Regions from separate parts of the Homo sapiens genome. Here regions 1 and 2 are each linked to region 3. The links are contacts of gene promoters, found by promoter capture Hi-C in blood cells and fetal thymus (Javierre and others, 2016). All regions are on one chromosome and are shown on one strand. Each heading gives the region's core, a stretch centred on a gene start or on the middle of the fragment in contact. The rest is flanking DNA. Distances are from core to core; before and after follow the strand shown. Region 1 overlaps PRICKLE1 (prickle planar cell polarity protein 1). Region 2 overlaps PPHLN1 (periphilin 1). Region 3 holds the start of GXYLT1 (glucoside xylosyltransferase 1).

Region 1 (4,085 bases), core at 853-3,352, 340 kb after region 3:
ATGTATACACACTTCTGTGGGATCCATTTGAGAGTGTATTTTTTTACATTCTTTTACCTAACCACAGCTCAAAACATCAGTATTCTTGACTATTCTAAGGCAGATTTATTGTCTTGGTCTTAAAATGCTGTAGCAAACTTAATCATAAATGAATGTCAACTATGCATTAACCAATCCTGTGCTAAGTTTGGAAATAAATCAATAGGCATCCTATTTCTCCAGTGTCTCTCTATAATTTTGAATGTAAATAAACCTCATAATGAAGGAGAAAGAAAAGCAAAACAGTTTTCAGAGATGGGTTTGTTCAGGTTCCAAATAGTCTGACCATTAAGGAGGTGTGTGGAGGGCACAAAACCTTTTAACAGCTACCACCACCATCAAAGATGGCATTGGGAGGGGGTGGTCAAGCACAAGGAACTGCTGTTAGAACTTAATTCTCTAGCAGGTTCATGAGTTCTTTGCAGACACTATTTTGAAAACTAAAAGCCTACTATCAGAGTCAAGTAGAGAAATAAATGTCAAACAGAAAAGAAGGGTATGGTCACAAGGGAGGTGAGAAAGAAGCCCAAGGTCATGTAGAGAGAGCTGGGATACTCTTTTTTTTTTTTTTTAGAAAGGCAAGGAATATCATGGGGCTATTCCATGCAATAGAAAATGGAACAGTTCCATTTCCCTCCTTTGTCCTTTCTCTCGCCTCTTCCTTCAAAATAGTTAAATAGCTATTTCTCATCATTAAAAACAAAGACAAGCAGCTAACAGATGTAAGACTTCTCAATCATCATTGTCAAGAGAACATCTGACCCAAAGGATAAGGGCTATACTTAGGGAATGGAATCTGATGCTCTCAGCATTCAGTAAACTTGGTCCTGATGTCTTCAAAGCTTTGACAAGTCAACAAACATCTTGAGACCTGATTTTAAAAAATAGCCACTATTTGCCTTCCAAAGATGGTCTAAGGATGTTTTAAAACAGAAAAGAATTTCACGACCATAAAGAATTAAAGCTCCTATTGCAACGTACCAATTGGCATTGCTGCTTCCACTGGGACTAAACAGACTTTCTTGAAGCTAACCAGTGACAAATGGAATTGAAACAATATGTTAATAACAAAACCTGAGTTTCATCTTCTTTTTGAGCTTGCGAGAGCTCTAGCCTTCTGAACGGCAGACAATTTTGCCAAGTTATTGACCAACGTTTCCAGCTGCTTCGGTAGCAGCTTCTAACCAGTCCCCACATAAAGCCTCCAATACCATACACATAGCGTGTGTGCGTGCACACATTCGCACACAGCATGTGTAGTGGTCTATGGAGCATGACAGTTTTTCTAGGTAAAGCTTGTTCCCCAAATTCAAGTATGGCCTTATTCATATAACACAGTGATATAATGAGGGGTTCCTTTGTGAAATTTACTTTCTAGGTTCATTCACTGCATTCATTCATTCATCCTTATATTTAAAGTTGTTATTGAACGGTTCTGGGGAATGCCAAAAGGAGCCAACTGACATTTATTCCATTAAAAGCCAGAACTTAGAAAGAAATGTAGCCACCGGGTGCAGTGGCTCATGCCTGTAATCCCAGCACTATAGAGGCTAAGGTGGGTGGATTACTTGAGGTCAGGAGTTCGAGACCAGCCTGATCAACATGGTGAAACCCCATCTCTACTAAAAATACAAAATTAGCCGGGCATGGTGGCGCATGTCTGTAATCCCAGTACTTGGGAGGCTGAGGCAGGAGAATTGCTTGAACCTGGGAGGCAGAGGCTGCAGTGAACCAAGATCATGCCATTGCACTCCAGCCTGGGCAACAAGAGCGAAACTCCATCTTAAAAAAAAAAAAAATTCCATTATTCATCTCCTTGCTTTCTTTCGTGGTGGCACGTGTAAAAATTATATGTGATTTAGCCTTCGGCTGATCATTTGTTTTCATTTTGAGCACAGTAGAAAACACTGGCTTCGGGATTCAAGAAACAGAATGGCCCCTGACCCATACATTTATGATAACTAGCAAACTTTTTGTAGGTTTTTTTCTCCCTGCTCTCATAATGTTTTGATCCCTGCTACCTGTCTCTTATTAAGGTGCCTTTCTCTTTTGCCCACAGCCAACAACCTCCAAACCTTTCAAAATTTGTTGCTTCCGGTATTAGGCAACCATTCTTTGAAAAAGTTTGTCTAAAAGTACACAGAAGCTGGGCATATGCCTATACTCTCAGCTACCTGGTGGCTGAAGTGGGAGGATTGCTTGAGCCCAGGAGTTTGAGACCAGCCTGGGCAATACAGCAAGACCCTGTCCCAAAAAAAAATCTATGTAGTAATTATGGCATGGACAAGGGCTTAAGGACTTCTCCTATAAGCACAGTAACCACTGGTGAAATAAGATAGCATACAGTGTGAGAAGGTGTTATTCAAACTAAAGAGAAGGTTTATTATTTCGTTATGCTATTTTGGCCACTTGGGGATCATTTCATTTTCTACTGGTCTGTATGCTGCTTCCAGGATAGCTAAGGATTATTATCTTGATTGACCTTGACATATACATAAATGAGCCATAACTATGTTTCTGTAAAGAGCTTAATAAGTCAGCACAGTATATGAAGGTCCAGAGGCAGTGAAGAGTGGACGGTTTTGCTAGAAGACAGATTCTTCCAAAGAAGCAACAACAGATGGCAATGGTGTCTGAATCCTATTTTCAAGAATTACACATTTCAGGCAGAAAACTGTGGGCTTATCACTACAGGCAATGGGAAGCTGCAAAAGACATGAATGGAGACTGCCACAAGATACTTCTGGGTCTTAAAGAAGATTAATATGGTAGTGATGGTCAGGAAAAAGATAAAGAACCTGAGAGGGGCCAATTAGTACACTGTCCCTAAGAAAGCTTACACATAGTGACTTGGGGAGGGAAAGTAAAAGGAACTAATAGGAAAGGAAGAAATTGGGCCAAAGACAGTTTTGAGTATTAGGTGATTGACATACCAATACATAAGTACCTTAGGGCAACTCAGAAGGGGAGTGAGGATTTGAGGGATTTCAGGAGAATGAGTTTAATCAGATACATATTGAGGTTGTAACTGTATATCAGGTCTGGTATGATTCCTATTATTCATAATTTTCTTGAACCAAGTCACCAAATCAAAATCATGCAAATAGAAAACAGTAATTGTCAGGGCCTGCCATTGAAAATGAAGTATAAGGTCATATCCCTAATTACATTTTTTTCTCCAATGCAATCCCACTCTAGTTCCTATATGAAGACTACCATGGCATTGTAAGATCCCTATGAAAAAGTATTTCTTGTGTGAACATGCCCAGGGAAGTTAGAAATCCTCTGATCACCAAAAGCCAGAACAGATACTGATTTGTGAAGTCAGTTAGGCCAACATTCCCTAGGTGTCCCCTGCTGCTAAGTGCCATCCGTGGGCTACAAACTGCTTAACAGCTTCTTTGTTAAACTGCTTGTTAACAAGGCCTTAGTGCATGGAAGATGCAGATCACAGGTTCTCCATTCAAAAGCTACTCCAATTCTCCCAGACTACATATGCAGGTGAATTAAATTTAACTACAGACTAATTTAGCAGTACAGAAACATGTCACACATCCATTCTTTTCACAATACAAAATATACCACCCTTATGGATATACACATTTCCTTGTTTAGGATGTCCTTAACTTCAATCGAGATGTGAATTTTCCAGTAAAAGAGACACTAAACTGTCATTTCTTTAAAGGTTTCACACACTCAAGGGGCATTCAGTGCTTACTGTCTACTAAAGACAAAGTCACTGCCAACAAAGCCCAATTCAATTTCACTTATTTGAAAAATAAAAACATAATGAAGTTATCAGGAGATATTGTTTATGAAACATTCCTTTACTAAGTTTTCCATACGAGCAATTAGTGGCATTAGGCCATATGCCCTTTAGTATTTTCTGTATTTTCCAGGTAAACCTCCGTCCAGCATTTTCGAGGTAAACCTCCATCCAGCTTGTACATTTCCCAACAGCTGAGTGGGCTATCACACATCACCCAATGGTCAAGAAACTATCCATTTTTCCAAGAGGAAATGTGGAACTCTTTCAAAGCATTCTA
Region 2 (4,418 bases), core at 1,782-4,281, 260 kb after region 3:
GTCATAGCTATGCCAGCTTTGTTATGTGAAACTTTACTTCTTAGCCATTTAGGAACCCCTTTCCTTATTACAATTAGCTAAGAAAAATTGAGTTAATTCAGACTTTATTTTGTTGATTGTTATTAGCTTTATTAAGAGTCTGTTGTAAGTCTAAATCTACTTAATATATTTTTTATTTTGAATTCCGTACTATCACCATTTGTGCGACTATATGGGCTACTTTACTAGCTTTTCTTCGCTTTTCCCTCCAAATAAAAGGGTTGGGCTGAATAATCTTAGGTCTCTTCCTGATCTAAATCATACTGAAAATTAAAAGTTAAATATTACTTTTTCTGTACACAGTTGTGTGTAGTAATTTCATATTTAACTATAGAATTTTAAGTTTTTTTTTTAAACCTTCTTAAGGACACAGGGCTCTTAAATTAAAATAAGTTTTTAAATAACCTTCGAATATACCACTGTTATGTGTCAGTCAGTAATTAGTATTTGTTGAGTTAATGAATTGTGCAGAGCAGGTTTTCTTCCGTAGATAGGGTGTTAGATTTAATTGTAAGTGTTGTAGCTGTGGCCATTTTCTCTTCTTACAGTGTCTCATTTCAGCTACTACTCATTGTCTGATGATTCCCAACACTCACTAGCTCTTGCTGTTTCTCATATATAATCTGTTTTTGTTTTACATTTAAAGAGGCTAGAAGTAAAGATTAGTGAAATGTACAGTCTTGAAAATGTTAACTAGAGTTGTGGACATGGAAAATAATCAGCTTTTAGCATATGATGCATTCCAATGAAATTGTTTTCAAAGTAGTGGCAGCTGTATCTATTGTTGTAGGTTCAAGATCTAAGCATTTCATAGTAACCTTACATAATAGAAACATTCTTTGTTTTTCCTTTTTATCAGAGCAAGTAACCAATGTTCTTTAAAGTGCAGCTCTCACCACTATCTTGTCTAGACATCAAGTCTACCCTACTGTATTTAACAATCCATTATTACCAACCACTTGTTCAGATTTTACATACATACAGTTAGTAAAATATACTCACATAAGATGTACCTCTGAAAGTCTGGATTCCCAAAACAACTTGAAAAGAGATGATTTATTTTGACCAAATTTCAAAGAGTTTGAAAGTTACAATTTACCAGATTCTGGTCATGCTGTTACTGCAGAAGCTTGTTGAAGTAAAAGTATAAAGTTTTTATTTTAAGAGAATCTAAAAGCTATCTCTATAAGATAATTTGTATCATATTTAAAAGGAAGCATCTCTTAAAGGTAATTTAGTTATTTTGTACCTGATATCTCTTTAAGTGGGAAGCTTGATGAATCTGTTAAGATGTTATATTTACATCAAATATAAAATCTAGATAGTACAGATACCAAGTCTTATTAGAACCATACTTAAAATGATATGAGTACCTTAAGGGATGAGGCCATCTTGCACCTTATCCTTGGGGATGTTACCACTGAAACAAAAAATACCCAGTTATAAAGCAGTTCCAGTAAAGGTAATCCCCATGGCATAAACCCAAGTATAAGCTTCATTTTCTTACCTCTTCTCCTCATCCACTCTCTACCAGTGTTAGGTAAGGATTTTACCTAGTGGTTCCAAATTACTGTCCCATGCTACTCAATTTTGTTTTCTTAGGTCAACAATTTTTTTTAGTCTCTGAGTATTTTATGGTAAGGACATTTATAAATGGCATGGTATAATGAACACTTAGTGTTTTCACATCTTAGAGACCTTTTCCTCTTTTTTTTTTTTCTTTTTTTTGAAACGAGGTCTCACTGCATTCTCTAATTATAAGTTCTCTCACAGAATTGACAACCTATTATATGTGAAAGCCGTTTATGTATGAAAATTACCATACAGGTGGTTAATGGTAGTGTTAAGTAATACTTTCTGCCTGTTTCTTTGCAGCTTTGCAATATTGATTACTTTCAAATTACTTCTTAAGAATATTTTAGGCTGGGCACAGTGGCTCACGCCTGTAATCCCAGCACTTTGGGGGGCCCAGGCGGGTGGATCACTTGAGGCCAGGAGTTCGAGACCAGGCTGGCCAACATAGTGAAACACCATCTCTACTAAAAATACAAAAATTAGCCCAACATGGTGGTGGGTGCCTATAATCCTCGCTACTTAGGAGGCTGAGGCAAGAGAATCACTTGAACCTGGGAGGCAGAGGTTGCAGTGAGCCGAGATTGCGCCCTTGCACTCCAGCCTGGGCAACAAGAGCAAAACTCCGTCTCAACAACAACAACAACAACAACAAAAATATTTCATAGCAAGTTTGTGATATAGGTTTACCTCTGAAAGGTGATTTTCTGGTCAGTGTCAAGGTTTCGACTATTTGCCTCTTACCTCTTCACTTCTTTTGTTTTGTTGTTGTTTATTTCCTTTTCCCCACCTCCTTCCTAATTTGTTCAAAATGAAATGTAAAAATACTATTAAAAAATATTTGTTTTGCAGCCGGGTATGGTGGCTCACACCTGTAATCCCAGCACTTTGGGAGGCTGAAGCAGGCGGATCACAAGGTCAGGAGTTCAAGACCAGCCTCACCAACATGGTGAAACCCTGTCTCTACTAAAAATACAAAATTAGCCGGGCGTGGTGGCCCATGCCTGTAATCCCAGCTACTCAGGAGGCTGAGGCAGGAGAATCGCTTGAACCCAGGAGACAGAGGTTGCAGTGAGCCAAGATCATGCCATTGCACTCTAGCCTGGGTGACAGAGTGAGACTCCGTCTAAAAAAATAAAAATAAAATAAATTTTTTTTGCTTATTTTGGGGGACTTTGTGATTTTGCTTTCACATTTTTCATTTGGCTTGCTCTTTTTATCTCAGTGTTCCTTATCTGTTTTGCTTGTATACACATAGCATAAAAAGATTAATGTTTCCTCCTTAGAATTCTCTACCGTCCTTTTCCTAAAGCATAAGTTGTTCTCATACTTTCCCCTTCATCTGTCATCTCTCATTTTTAAGATGTGATCTGTCTTGAAACATCTGCTGTCCTCTCTTAACTATTGTTTAATTCAGGTATTGTGCCAGGAGAGAACAAATGTGTATGTTTTATATGCACTTGAGTGCTGACTACAATTACAGTGTGAGTTAATTGATATTCTCAGTCCATTTATAAGAAACATTTTAAAAGCTGCACTAAGAAAATCTCATGTTTTACTTAAAGGTAACTTGAAAGTAAACACTAGAAGTGAATTGATGATTGTCTAATGTCTGGTTTATTGGGAGCTAATTATGTTATCTTTCGTTGTTTTTCTTTCCTTACTCTTCCTCTTTCTTTTTGCATTTTTTATGTTTTTGGGGTTTTAAAAAGAAAACCATTATAGGAAATCAGACAATGCAATATATGTTATTTCTGTTTTGAATACTTATTTACATGAGTTAGCTGGGGGAATATTTGTAGGGGTTTTTTGGTCTGCCTGAAAGCCAAATCTTAAGATTTTTAATCCCTCAATTACTGGAACTTGGGGGAAAAGTGAGCAGTTCAGTGTAATTTAATTTTCCAGTTGGCTGAAGTTAGCCATGCTAAACTCTGCTATGTTTGTTATTATGTTTTGCTTTTTTTTTAAAATCACTTTTAGTGATGTATGTAATACAGAAAGAAGAGTGTTCAGAACCTAGTTGTTAATCTGAGTGATTTTTTCTACAAAGCAAATACTTGTAAGAACTACCATTCAAGGCAAGAAATAGAATATTACCAGCACCCAAGAATCCGTTCATCTCCCCTCCTAACCTTTACCCCCTTCAAGGTAACTACTAAATTGATTCTTAACATTATAGTTTAGTCTGGTTTTTTTTTTTTTTTGAGACAGAGTCTTGCTCTGTCACCCAGATTGGAGTGCAGTGGTGCGTTCTTGGCTCACTGCAAACTCCACCTTCCGGGTTCATGCCATTCTCCTGCCTCAGCCTCCCGAGTAGCTGGGACTACAGGCACCCGCCACCATGCCCGGCTAATTTTTTGTATTTTTAGTAGAGATGGGGTTTCCCGTTAGCTAGGACGGTCTCGATCTCCTGACCTCGTGATCCGCCTGCCTCAGCCTCCCAAAGTGCTGGGATTACAGGCGTGAGCCACCGTGCCCGGCCTCTGTTTTTGAACTTTATACAAATAGAATCATATGGAATATAGTATTTGTGTCTAGCATCTTTTGTTCAAAATTGTGTTTATGAGATTCGTTGATGTTGTTACATGTTATGTATCTCCTTATGGTTTTAATTTGCATTTGCCTGATTAGTGATGCTGAGGACTGTTTCCTGTGGTTATTGGCACATGAATATCCTTTTTTTGTAAAACGGCTATTGAAATTCTTGTCCATTTTTCTAATTAGTTATCTTTTTTTCAGTTGATTAGTAGAAGTTCTTTATATATTCTGAATACAAGGTGGTTATATGTGTTGTGGATATTTTTCCC
Region 3 (4,094 bases), core at 1,307-3,806:
ATGGTGGCCAAAAAAGTTAATTTTTTTTTTTTTTTTTGAGACAGGATCTTGCTCTGTCACCCAGGTTGGATTACACTGGTGCAATCATAGCTCACTGTAGCCTTGAACTCCTGGGCTCAAGTGATCCTCCCACCTTAGCCTCCCAAAGTGCTGGGATTACAGGTGTGAAACACCACATTCAGTTAATTTTTTTTTAATTTTTTTATTTTTTGTAAAGATGGGTTGTTGACGAGGCTGGTGTCAAACTCCTGGCCTCCAGCAATCAATCATCCCCACTCAGCCTCCCCAAATTCTGGGATTACAGGCGTGAGCTACCGAGCGTTGCCAAAAGTTGATTTAATTCTATGACATTTCTATAAAGATGTTATAAATGACGATATACAAAATAGAGTCCTGAGGTCTTAGTAATTTGCGTGATCTTAATCTAACCATAGAGTAAAACTTCACAATCCAACTTTTCCACGTTGTTCCCCTGCCCAAATGGTTTCTTATGCGCGCAAATGTGGTGACATGCTGTTCTTCATCACATTTTTACAAAGAGAGATAAATACACCTATAGTTCTAACTTAGATGTACGCCTCATTTAAAATAAAGAGTAATGCTACTCAAAGGACCTAAAAAAGTACAGTATTTCGGTTGACTCAATCCTGACACATAAAACTTAACGTTTCAGTAATGATTATATTGGATGTTTATTAAAACTGAGGCTATTTTCGAAAATTTCAAATAATTTTATTAAAATTAGCTGGTCAAGCAAACAAAATTTGTAAATTTCTGTCACAAAATAAAATATCTAAGACCAAGGCACTAAAAATGTGATGTTAACATCAGTCTAATTTCATTCAATATTTAATTAAAATGTTGCTTCCTTACAATTCTACCCCATATAAAAATAATTCCTTTTCCATAATTGCAAATGCTTCACAATAACATACTAGGCCATAAACAGTTTAGCTTCAACCTGTCATTTTTCACGAGCTCATTCAAGTCTTCAGTGACTGCTTTCTCCCAGGACAGACAACTGAGGGTCCTGATGTAGGAATTACCCTGACTGTAATCAAATCTCAGGGTAAAAACATGACAAGTCCGCTTTCCACGCTGCTCCTCTGCCCAAACTTTCCCCTTTCATTCTGGGAATGACCATCGACTCTCAAAATGATGTTAAACAACAGCCCACAACTGATCTATACTCCCTCTTCCGACAAACCCTATACTTCTCTATATCAAAGCAGCATTTGCCAAGTCTTGGTAGGGAGCACTTCAGGTCATTCCCAGAGAGATGCCCATACATAAGGTGGAAGTGTCCATGTTGCAAGGCAGTGCAAACGCTCAGATTTCAAGCATTCATAATGCGTTGACAGAAACATTTTTTTTCTATTTAAATCTCATGTTGATTCCCACTCTGGCAGTGATTACGTCCTAAGTCATTACGTCGCTTTTTAAATACCAATTTGTCAAGAAAGGTAACTCCATCCCATCCAACAACAGACTTGAGCACGCCAAGTATCGCTCATTTTTCTTAATTTGCTCTAAGTTTCTTAATAAACTGAGTGTTTCCAAAAGAAAATTTCACAACCCGCACAAATGCCATTTCCAAATTTAACTAACCATGGCTAATACTTAGAAGTGTAAGCGTTAACACAGGAAAATCAGCATGAGGGACAAAATACACACACATATACACTCACACACACACACACAATCCTTAAACACTGAACTAGGGCGCCAGCCTCATGTTTAAATATCTCAACTTGAACTCCACTGAAACAAGAGGAAATTCTCACTAGCCAGGCAGCAGTAAGGCTTTTGTGGACACCTCTTATTTTCAAAGAACCCTCTTTTTAAAAAGTTGAAAATTAATTTCTAACTGCTTTAAAGGGCGCATGACTGGGTCAAAAGATAAACACAGAAAGTGTAGGACACTCTCAGGCGGGAGCAGCGCAGGTTTAGCCCCGGCCGGAGGGGAAGGAGGGAAATGAGTGAGGGGTCAGAGACAGGAGGAAAGACGCGGGAGACGCGGCACCCACCGGCGAGCAGCCCGGGCTAGGCCGAGCCCGCGCCCAGCGCCCCGCGCCCGCCGCGTCCCCCACACCGGGAACTGCCCGTACCTGTCCGACACGCCGGGATGCGCTGCGGGGCCCGCGACGCCGGCGCCTCTCACGGCGCCGCGTCCGCCGCCCGCGAGCCAGGAAGCCACCGCGGCCTGCGGCTTCCCGCCACCGCCGCCCGTTCCTTCTTCCAGGGACACGGCGAGCTGGCTGAAAGCGTAAAGGAGCGAGCAGAAGCCGCAGGCCACACACAGCACCACGACGCGCAGGTAGCGCCGCATCGCCCCGGCCGCGCTCCTCCTTCGCCGCCGCCGCCGCGCCCGCCCCGACGAACTGGAGCGGAGGGAGGGGCACCGCGCAGCCGCGGGCGCAACAAGTTCCTCACCCGCAGCCGCCGCCGCCGCCTTGCGCCCGCTCCCTTCCTTCCCTCCCCGCCCACCACCTAGGCGAGCGCAGTCGCGGCTCCGGAGCCGAAGGACTACCCGCCCGGAAGCCTGGACACCGCCTCTGCCGCCGCGCGCTCAAGGGTCAGCGGCAGCGACGCAACCCCGCCCCTCCCCCGGGCGGGAGGGCTGGACGCGCCGGCGCAGTTCGCGTGGGAGGGACGCAGGGCTGGCGCGCAGAGGGTGGTGTGAGTGCGCGGAACGCGGCGCGCCTGAGGGCTATAGCTAGCGCAGGCCGACGCGCAGGTGAATGGGAGCCCTGTGGGTCTCGACCGCCGAGAGAGGGGGAGCGAAAGCCTCAGGGCTCTGGAGGCAGTTGACCTAAATTCTAATTATGGTCCTTCCACATGGTAGTTTGTGACATTGGGCAACCTAAATTCTCTGAGCATGTTTCTTCGTCCCTAAAATGGAGCTACTATCCTCATCATGGGGTGGTTGTAAAGATTAAACTGTTTAACGCTCGAAAACCGCCTAACACTTAGAAGACACTTGACTAGGCCAGTTTCCTCTCCATCCTCCCCCAGCCTCTAAGTTTCTGTGATACTATAATGTGCACGAGCCATTTTCACCCCGATAAGCTCATTGCTTCGTGTGTTTGGTATGCGGACCTTACCTCTTGCCTCCCAGCAGACAGTGAGTTCCTGTAAGGCAGGGCTCTTCCCTTTGACCTTTTTGACCTCCCTCACAACTCATTATTTTCATGTGCAAAACAATTAGTATTCTCTCCACAGAGCTTCTTTCTTCCCCAGTTCTTCTCCCTCTTCTTCTGTGTTTCCACTACGTTCATTCATTGACCATTTATAAAGCATCACTTGTGCCAAGCTCTGTGTGAGTACCTAGGGGTATAAAGAGGCCTAAGTGGAGCGTGGGTGGGACAGCGGATACTTGTAAATAAGCGCAACGCAGTGATAACAGACTTAAGATCCAGGCCTGTAAGGGTGTGGGCATACACACAAAGGAACAATCAGTTCTATCTGTGAGTATGGTCAAGAGAGACTTCATAGCAAAGGTGGCGCTAGAGTCTTGAGTCGGGTAAGGGAAGTAATTCCAGGCTGAAGGATCAATAAACAGGCTCTTGTGTAGGGAACTGTTGAGAAGTTTGATACCACCAGCTAAGTGAATGCAAGAGAGGGTATGATGAGCGATAAGCGCGTAGAAGGGGCCAGATATTTGAGTGCTTTGTTTAGCACACCAAGGAGTTTGAATTTAATCTGCAAGACATTAGTGAACCATTGAAGGGTTTTTAAATAGGGAAGTAACATGATCACAATTGCATTTTAGAGAGCAGATTCTGGCTGTAGTGTGGAGGCTGAAACAGAGAGAGGAGAGATTGGAGGCAGAAAGCAGCACCAGTGCCAAAAAGTGAGGGAAGGGATACTTAAAAATACACACACACACGAACACACATTCATGGGGAAAAATCATGCGTTTAACTGCTGAAATTGCATCTGGGGCGTTGAAAAGTTTGGCCATGAGATACAAGGTGGGGAAATGCTGCGCAAAATAGTAGCAGTCTCCATTTGGATCCTTGGCTCCCTATACCAAAAAAGTAGTGGTTCTGTGACCATGATAAAGTCACTAAACAAATTTAAGGTTCAACTTC

The links. Contacts are between HindIII fragments. The CHiCAGO score rates a contact against its expected background, and 5 or more counts as called.
Region 1: a fragment that was not itself captured here is called in contact with the fragment with the promoter of GXYLT1 in region 3 in 1 of 17 cell types (megakaryocytes); the score reaches 6.7 in megakaryocytes.
Region 2: a contact is called between a fragment that was not itself captured here and the fragment with the promoter of GXYLT1 in region 3, in 1 of 17 cell types (non-activated CD4 T cells). The highest score is 6.3, in non-activated CD4 T cells.

The regions. Positions count from the first base shown.
Region 1 is chr12:42,478,131-42,482,215 of GRCh38, forward strand. The region is part of intron 1 of PRICKLE1 (prickle planar cell polarity protein 1); the gene reads right to left. Among named protein-coding and RNA genes, the nearest start is that of PRICKLE1, 110 kb to the right of the region's middle. RefSeq lists enhancers at 1,048-1,137, 3,147-3,758 and a silencer at 2,633-2,833. The HindIII fragment of the contact is 1,540 bases long and covers 1,333-2,872 here.
Region 2 is chr12:42,402,287-42,406,704 of GRCh38, forward strand. All of the region lies in intron 9 of PPHLN1 (periphilin 1), which reads left to right. Among named protein-coding and RNA genes, the nearest start is that of PPHLN1, 78 kb to the left of the region's middle. The HindIII fragment of the contact is 3,002 bases long and covers 1,531-4,418 here.
Region 3 is chr12:42,142,318-42,146,411 of GRCh38, forward strand. GXYLT1 (glucoside xylosyltransferase 1) reads right to left here and starts at 2,557. Exons shown (of 8, transcript NM_173601.2): 1 at 2,109-2,557. The coding sequence starts at 2,329. RefSeq lists silencers at 1,945-2,174, 2,255-2,754 and an enhancer at 2,915-2,984. The HindIII fragment of the contact is 13,899 bases long and covers 1-4,094 here.